Regions from separate parts of the Homo sapiens genome. Here regions 1 and 2 are each linked to region 3. The links are contacts of gene promoters, found by promoter capture Hi-C in human tissues and cell types (Jung and others, 2019). All regions are on one chromosome and are shown on one strand. The core of a region is centred on a gene start or on the middle of the fragment in contact, and the rest is flanking DNA. Distances in the headings are between cores, read along the strand shown. Region 1 overlaps EVC (EvC ciliary complex subunit 1). Region 2 overlaps CRMP1 (collapsin response mediator protein 1). Region 3 holds the start of TMEM128 (transmembrane protein 128).

Region 1 (2,700 bases), core at 199-2,698, 1.5 Mb before region 3:
GAAAGATGGGATGCCGCCCTGGGAATTCCAACTCTTCTGTGTTCTGAGATACGGAAGCCATCTTTTTTCCCTTTGGTGCCCGGTATGCAGGCATAGTGAATCCATCCCTCTTCTATACAAACATAGACTGTGTAGCCCTGTCCATGCATCATTACAGTAATTTTTTGCTGTCTATTTCTCCTGCTGACATGTGGCCTGCAGGACTCTAATGACTAACAAGTACTGAATGCTTCCTACGTGCCGGGCTCTGCTCTAAAAACTTTACATACTGCCAAGTCTTTAACACCCTCAACTACCCTGTGAGAGAGCAGGTGCTATCATAGCCCCCATTTCACAGAAAATGAAACCAAATCACAGAGAGGTTAAATTATCTGCCCAAGATCACACAGCTAACGAGTGGCAAGACTGCAGTGGGAGCTCCAGTTTCTTCCCTGAGCCTGCATTCCTAACCTCTGCAATATGGTTTCCATGAACAGCATGTGCTACACAGTAGGTGCTCATTAAACATTGGCTGAAGGACAGTCATGCTGTTAAACTGGAGGATCCCTTTCCTTCTTCCTATTTGGAAGTTATTGGCTGATACTCTGGCCAGAGTCAGCTAAGGATGTATTTTCTTTTTTCTGCATCAATATCCTGCTGATAGCAAAAGAAAAAAATATAGGAAGAAAAGTCTTTCACCTTTGCAGAGCATTAATGAGTCAGCAGCCTTATCAAACTGAAATCCAATTCAAAGGGGCTTGGGCAGCAAACCAGGAAGCTTCAGGCCCAGGCTCAGCGATGTCATTAGAGAGGACGGGGATCTTAGGTGGATCACTGAGTGGGCTCCTTATCTGCGTGCTGTGAATAAAATATCTTCCATACCTATCTTTCGGCAGTGTTGACAGAAAAAAAAGGCCATGTGTGTATATACCGAGAAAAAGCACATGAAGTTCTCAAACAACTGTGTGGATGTGGGGGTCTTGTTAAAGTGCAGATCCTGCTTGGGAAGGGTGGAGGACAGGATTCTGCACTCTAACCAGCTCCCAGTGTTGCCGATGCTGTGGTCTGTGGATCACACCTGGAGGAGCAGAGCGGATTGGGAGAGGCATGTGGTGTGCAAGGGGAGGCAAAGATCCGTTGAGGCTTGGCTTTCCCACGGGTCTGAGGAGCTGAGTCTGTGCTGAGGGCAGGGTGGCCACTGCAGGGTTCTGAGCCGAGCTGCCACACGGGCTGGTGCACAGGACGGGGAAATGGGTGCAGGGCAGCATCAGAGGGCTCGTTCCCTGGCCCTAGTACACACTGGCGCACACAGGATGAGCCCAATGTGTACCAAGAGGAACCCAATGGTGACTGGGGTGTTAGGAGTCACTCAGCATCTAGCCAGGCCCTGTCTGTGGCAACTCTTAGCACTATTATTTTATAAATAGAGGAACAGACGCGCAGAGAGGTTAAGTAATGTGTTCAAGATCACACAGCTCCAAACAACAGAGCCCAGAGTCAAAGCTGGATTCGCAGATTTCTCTCCCACGGGTGTCCAACCCTTTGAATGTGAGGACTTTTTTGCTTATCTGTGGTTGGCAGGCTTCACAAAAATAAGGAGGGACCTTTTTTTTTTTTTTTTTTTCCGCTCATCAGCTATCGTTAGTGTTAATGTATTTTATGTGTGGCCTAAGACAATTCTTCTTCTTCCAATGTGGCCCAGGGAAGCCAAAAGGTTGGACACCCATGCACCAGGGGTTTGTATCCCTGGCCTCCCGTCAGAATAGTTCAGGGAGTTTTAAAACCCACAATGCCAGGGCCTCCACTCCAGACCAATCATATTAGAACCTCAGAGTGAAGGCCAGGAAAAGGCATTGTTAAAGAACTCTGCAGGCAAAACAGGGCAATCAGGAAAGTCAATCAATGCTCTGTCTACACCAGTGGGCGTCAACCCCAGCTCCCACCATCGTCATTGGGGAGCTCTAAAAACCCCAATGCCCAGCCAGGTTGCACCCCAATCTGATTAAGTCAGAAACTCTGGGATGGAGACCCATCTGGGGCCCAAGAATCAGTACTTTTTAAAGCTCCCAGATAATTTCAATGTGTAATTTCAGGTTTAGGACCAGTGTTCTATGCTCCAGTAATACTGAGCTGGCCAGAGCCTTCACTCATTGGATAGACGGATGGATGGATGGATGGATGGATGGGTGGATGGATGGATGGATGAGTAAATGGATGGATGGGTGGATTGATGGGTGGATGGGTGGGTGGGTGGATGGGTGGACGGGTGGATGGATGGGTGGGTGGATGGATGGATGGAGGGATGGATGGATGGATAAATGGGTGGGAGGGCAGATGGATGGATGGGTGGGTGGATGGATGGGTGGATGGATGGATGGATGGGTGGATGGATGGATGGATAAATGGGTGGGAGGGCAGATGGATGGATGGGTAGATGGATGGATGGATGGAAGGGTCAATGGGTGGATGGATGGGTGGATGGATGGATAAATAAATAAATGGATGAATGAATTTACTGTTGTTGTTGGTTTTTTTTTCCCTGAGGCTCTATATAACCAGCTACAACATGAATCTGTTAGATTTAAGGATGTCAAGCCTCAGGATTCCATATCTCTAGTCTGAATATCTTTATGTTCCCTCCCGCCCCCTCCAGCATTACCAGAGCCTGCAGCTCCTGAGAATCGCACAATAGCCCTTCGGCTGCAATCATTCTTTCCGTCA
Region 2 (2,893 bases), core at 289-2,788, 1.6 Mb before region 3:
CCAAGGTGGGCAGATCACTTAAGGTCAAGAGTTTGAGACCAGCCTGGCCAACATGGTGAAACCCTGTCTCTACTAAAAATACAAAAATTAGCCAGGCATGGTGGCGGGCACCTGTAATCCCAGCTATTCGGGAGGCTGAGGCAGGAGAAATTGCTTGAACCTGGGAGGCAGAGGTTGCAGTGAGCTGAGATCATGCCACTGCACTTCAGCCTGGGCGACAGAATGAGACTCTCTCAAACAAAAAAGAAGAAAGAAAGAGAAAGATAGAAAGACAGGAAGGGAGGGAGGGAGGGAGGAAGGAAGGAAGGAAGGAAGGAAGGAAAGCAGGCAGGCTGCGGAACAGGGCACAGGTGTCAGAGGAATTCAGAGAAGAGATGACTCAGCCCTGGCAGAAGCAACAAGAGATGGCTTCTTGGGGTTTGGAGGATGACATCAGCCAGGTGTTGAGGGACTTGATTGGTTGAGGGAAGGGAAGGGCATGCAAGGTGGGTGGAATATTTCACACAGGTGAATCAGAGGACGCAGAAGTGGAAATACATGTGAATGGGTGGGGCTATGGGGGGATTCTATAAAGCTTTGGAAATCAGGGAGAATGCACCCAAGGGGATGGAAATAACACGTGGGTTCTAAGTGTGTCTTAGATATGAATGGGTTATTTGATGTTGAGCAAGTCACTTTCTCTCCCTGGGCCTCGGATTCCTTTTCTGGACAGGGAGAGTTGGATTAGATAATTCAGTTCCAAGTTCTAGGCCACTCTGATCTTCTTCTTTGGTTAATAGGAAGGCACTGGAAGTTCTTGAGGTAAGATGCTGTTATTATGAAAGCAGCTTGTAGGAATGTGGATTCTGAACTCAGACTATCTGGCTTTGAATCCTGGCTGTTTTACTTACTAGCTATGTAATTGGACAAGTCACTTATTCTTTCTATGCATCAATTTTATCTGTACAGATTTATGTTTGGAAATCAGAATGATATTTCCTAAGATTTTTTCCCCATAGAATTAAATGACTTAATATGTGTAAGATGCTTAAAATAGTGCCTGCACATATTAAATGCAATGTGGATTAGCTCTTATTATTATTACCGTGGGATGGTGTATTAGCTTTGCTCCATAGCATACAACCCCAAGGTGTCAACAATATACACTTATTTTTTGCTCATGCTACATGAGGGCTGTGGGTTGGCTGTAACTTTGCCCCTGTTTACTGGTGGGTAGTGAGTCTGCTCTGTGCATCTCCTCACTTTGAGACCCAGGCTGAAGGAGAAGAAAAGCACAAGAGATTGGCAGCAACCTGAAATATCTTTAAGAACTTCTACTCAAATGTAGCATATTTCACATCTGCTGATAGTGTACTGGCCAAAGCAAGTTGTATGATCAAGCTCTAAATCGGTGGGAGAGAAGCACAAAGTCAGTCTTTCTAGAGGAGATGTGAGGATTGAATGTGAAAGTTCTGACATGTAAAAGATGCTAATACACACCCGTGGAAGCTGATAATGAGGTGGTCAGGAAGCACAGCGATTGGGTTTGGAAGAAAAATCCCACCATTGGTTCTTAGGTTGTATTGGATTTGGTAGCAAGCTCGAAATTGAGGTGTCTCAATGGACAATAAGGAATAGATTGGAATGAGGGTGAGAGGCAAAGGACAGAGATAGATATTAGGGGCCCATGTACAAAAGGTATTGGTAGAAGACAGAAAAATGCAAGCTATTTCAACAACCAGTGGTTCTCAGCCTGTGTGCTGTGAGCACAGTGGTGTACTCAAAAAAATTCTCTGCCGATGTGTGGCTAAATTTTGATCAGCGTTTAAAATTTATGTTTGCTACAACCAAGTCTACAAATTATTGTAGCATCTCTCAGGTGGAGCCCTGAGTATTCACAAGCAGAGAGATGTTGAATAGAGTCTAATTTGCTGTAAGTAAAAGTCAGCTCTTGCCATGGAAGAGGAACACCGGAGGACTTTGCCGTGAGAGCATATAAAAGAACATGGTCGGGGCAGTGGACAGCACCACGGTGCTGAATGGTAACCAAGTGCAATCAGAGCTATGATAGACCTGTAAGACAGCTACAGTCACACTGCAGTGGGAGGGCATGGTGATGGTTGCAGACTTACCTGGTGTAATTTTAGGTCTTTAATCCTTCAAGAATGCTGCAAAATTTTATATGATTTGAAAGTATGTCCTGAGTACAGTAAGGTTGAGAACCATTGCCCTAGAGAGCTGTAATGACCAAATCATAGCTTTGCTCTGAGAAGAAACAACTCTGAATTGGTGTTGGTAGTTTGGGAAGTGGAGTGGGATCTTGGATGCTTCATAGAGAAGTTGTCTAGAAAACAAGAGCAAGCAGCTAAAAGGAAGAAAGCAATGTTTGTGGATATATGAGGTTGTAGTTCCCCACTCCTTCCTTGGGCCTGTGTCCCAGGCATCCAGAGCATTCGCCTTGACCTGGCACACCATGTGTGGCCCTCTGCCTTTGTATCAGCTGTGTCCATTCTCTATAAAGGATTCCTCCTCCTGGGCTGGGGGTGGTGAGCACTTCAATTTCAGTAACTTTGGCTTGTTGCTCATGTCCATCTGCTCCGCTTGACCATGGATACTTGGAAGACTGGGAAATTGTCTGATTCTCCTCAGGAGCCCTTCAGGAACACTGGGGATTCACAGTGGGGATGCCACACTGTGTGAGTGAGTGAATGGGAGCAAGATTGTGGACTTCCTTGCTGAGTGAGGTTTCAGCCACAGCTGCATTTAGTCTTCCTTAACAAGGCACTGTCTGTGGATTTAACATGAAGGTAGTTACTATGCAGAATGAGATGAAGGTGGCATGAGGAGTTTTGGAGCTCAAAGCGAAAAGAAGGTGTGGGGGCCCCTGAAGTGGTGCTTTGACAATGGGGAGAGG
Region 3 (2,783 bases), core at 242-2,741:
GTTCAAGTGATTGTCCTGCCTCAGCCTCCAGAGTAGCTGGGATTACAGGTGCCGGCCACCATTCCCGGCTAACTTTTGTATTTTTAGTAGAGACGGGGTTTCGCCATGTTGGCCAGGCTGGTCTCAAACGCCTGACCTTGTGATCCGCCCGCCTCGGCCTCGCAAAGTGTTGGGATTACAGGCGTGAGCCACCGCGCGCGGCTGGCACTCTTTTCTTGAGTATTTCTTATTACATTCCTTTTACAAACACCCCAACACATCGAAGATATTAAACAGTGCCTACTAATTCAAATTTTACTTCCTATGTAGCTGGCTCTCCACCCCTGTATTCAACTCACCTGAAACCACTCTCCCTGCTCTCCCACACTGCAGCAGAATAAACTGCCCTTTATATGTACAGTGTTTCTATTATGCCCCATGTACAGTGTTTTTATTATGGCACTGTATTGAAGCTGCTTCCTCTACTAGATTCTTCTGTCCTCACCATTTTATCACATGCAGCTGCTCAGAAAATGTTGGCTGCATTGATGAAATGCTTTCATACATTTACAAATAGAGTTTTCTTGTAATATACCTCTGTGGTTTTCTTTGGACAAGGAGCTCCTCACGTGCAAGGCCATGTCTTACTCATCTTTATCTCCACTGCTAGCATGGTGCCTAACAGCTCCTACCAAATAGTAGATGCTCAGTAAACGTTTGCGTGGCTAAGCCCACCATTTCTCAGCACATGACACGCTGGGAAACGGCTGGGAGAGTAATACGCGGGATTATTGACGAAGAAAAAGTTGTGAACTCGTAACACACAGTTTGTGGGCGTGAGCAGTGTGGAAAACCGCAGTTTGCTGGGAAAGCAATTTAGTTCCCTCGGTTCAGGCTGGGAGGATTTTTCACAAGTGGCGAGGAGGAGGCTCACATGAACCACATACAGGTACTTCTCACTGAAACGCACAACAAATCTAGAGCCAAGTGTAATAACGAAACGGGCCCCAAGAAGTTTATTTAATGCCCAGGGCCCCCAAGTGGTCACTGCCAGGCTCTAGCATCCTGTCCAGCAGGCCTTTCTCCTCCTTTCAAGTCTTGCTGGACGACTCCTGAAAAGCAAAAGTAGGAAAAAAACTGGGGGCTGAGAGTGGAAGGCTGGACAGAGGGTATGTCTCCTGCTCTGGCACCCGGAAGCCTGCGAGGGCTTCGGAAGCGCAGCGTCTCACGGTCGCGCATCCCGGCCCTGGACGCATCCAGCGGCAGCGGTAATCCTGGTCCTCCTGGGCTTCCGTAGGTCGGAATAAACTTGGGAACTCTTCCACCGGCAAAGCTCAGTGTTTTAAAATTCAAATCACACTTGCCGACATGAGAGCGGAACCTTTGAGGCCGACTCCACCCTAGCTGCTCGCTAACTAAACAGCGAAGAGAACACAGTCTCCAATCCAAACGCCAGGAGGTCCAGACCCGGAGCGGACGCCGGAAGCGCTGTGTCTGACGTCACTTCCGTCGCATTTCGGGGCGGTACCAAGATGGACTCCTCGCGGGCCCGGCAGCAGCTCCGGCGGCGATTCCTCCTCCTGCCGGACGCCGAGGCCCAGCTGGACCGCGAGGGTGACGCCGGGCCGGGTGAGGCGCGCACCAAGCCGCCCCGAGGTTCTCAGAGGCGAGGCGTCGGAAAACGGCCGGCCTCCGGCAGCCCTGGCCCAGTCTGGAAGGACTGAGTTTCGGCTTTGCAAGTCGAATATTTAATGTCAGGGAAGATCCTTAGAATCGCGGAGTGCTGTGCATCGTCATTTCAGCTGCGCTTCAGAATTCTCTGGAGAGCTGATTTGACACCTATTTGGAAATAGCGATTAAAATTAAAAATACCCACCAGTTTTAAGTCTTAAGGATTTACCAGAAACATGCGTGTACCGCAGTGTACAATGATGTGCGCAGTGTTTCACTTCAGGATTGCTTGTAATAGCGAATTACTGGAAATATCTGCCTTGCCCGTCAGCAGAAAGCTGTTTAAGTAAATTTGGGTATATGTATACCTGACACATCAGGTCGACTCGTATGTACCAATGGGGATGATTTTCAAAGGGAAGTGTGGAACACTATGGTATGCCGCCATTTGGGTACAAAACAGGTAACTTGTGATGTATGTTCACCTGTGAATGCATAGAATATGGAAGAATTCAGTAGAAATTGTAAGTGGTGGTTGCTTCTGGGGATTAGATCTGAGGTTAAGGATGGGAGACAGATACTTCATTTTGGATATTTTTTATCTCATATGTTTTAAAACCACGTCCATTTATTACCTTTTAAAATTAAAAACACGAATAACCTCATGCCCAGGCATGATGATGTATACATTTTGAGGATATCCCAGAATATTACGAACATGCTTCCCAGGGTTTCCGATGGTCATCTAAAGGCCCAAAACCTCAGATGTGGACCATTGATTCTCACGTGAACCTAGAGGGCATGTCAGAATCCCCGGAAAACTTAATAGAAATCATCCATCTGACCCAACCCCCATCCACCCATTCTTTCAGATTGCGTTCCAGACAGGAAAAATGTCTTGTCCATCACCTGTCTAGACAGTGCTGTGCTGGAACTAGAGCTCTGGTGTGCCGTTTCCACTTTTGAGCTGTGTTTAAAGTAACTAAAATATTTAGTTATAGGCTGGGCAGGGTAGCTCACGCCTGTAATCCCAGCACTTTGAGAGGCTGAGGCGGGCTGATCACGAGGTCAGGAGTTCGAGACCAACCTGGCCAAATAGAGCAGCCTGGCCAAGATGGTGAAACCCCGTCTCT

What was found. The method cuts DNA at HindIII sites, captures the fragments that hold promoters and counts their contacts. A contact is called where the count stands out against the background at its distance.
Region 1: a fragment that was not itself captured here is called in contact with the fragment with the promoter of TMEM128 in region 3 in 1 of the 25 tissues and cell types used here (mesenchymal stem cells).
Region 2: a fragment that was not itself captured here is called in contact with the fragment with the promoter of TMEM128 in region 3 in 1 of the 25 tissues and cell types used here (dorsolateral prefrontal cortex).

What each region holds. Positions count from the first base shown.
Region 1 is chr4:5,748,245-5,750,944 of GRCh38, reverse strand. EVC (EvC ciliary complex subunit 1) reads right to left here. Exons shown (of 21, transcript NM_153717.3): 8 at 2,639-2,700. Among named protein-coding and RNA genes, the nearest start is that of EVC, 38 kb to the right of the region's middle. The HindIII fragment of the contact is 5,077 bases long and covers 1-2,700 here.
Region 2 is chr4:5,880,662-5,883,554 of GRCh38, reverse strand. The region is part of intron 1 of CRMP1 (collapsin response mediator protein 1); the gene reads left to right. Among named protein-coding and RNA genes, the nearest start is that of CRMP1, 11 kb to the left of the region's middle. The HindIII fragment of the contact is 3,703 bases long and covers 1-2,893 here.
Region 3 is chr4:4,246,931-4,249,713 of GRCh38, reverse strand. It overlaps TMEM128 (transmembrane protein 128), which reads left to right and starts at 1,491. Exons shown (of 5, transcript NM_001297551.2): 1 at 1,491-1,608. The coding sequence starts at 1,512. RefSeq lists enhancers at 1,111-1,220, 1,523-2,149. The HindIII fragment of the contact is 14,953 bases long and covers 1-2,783 here.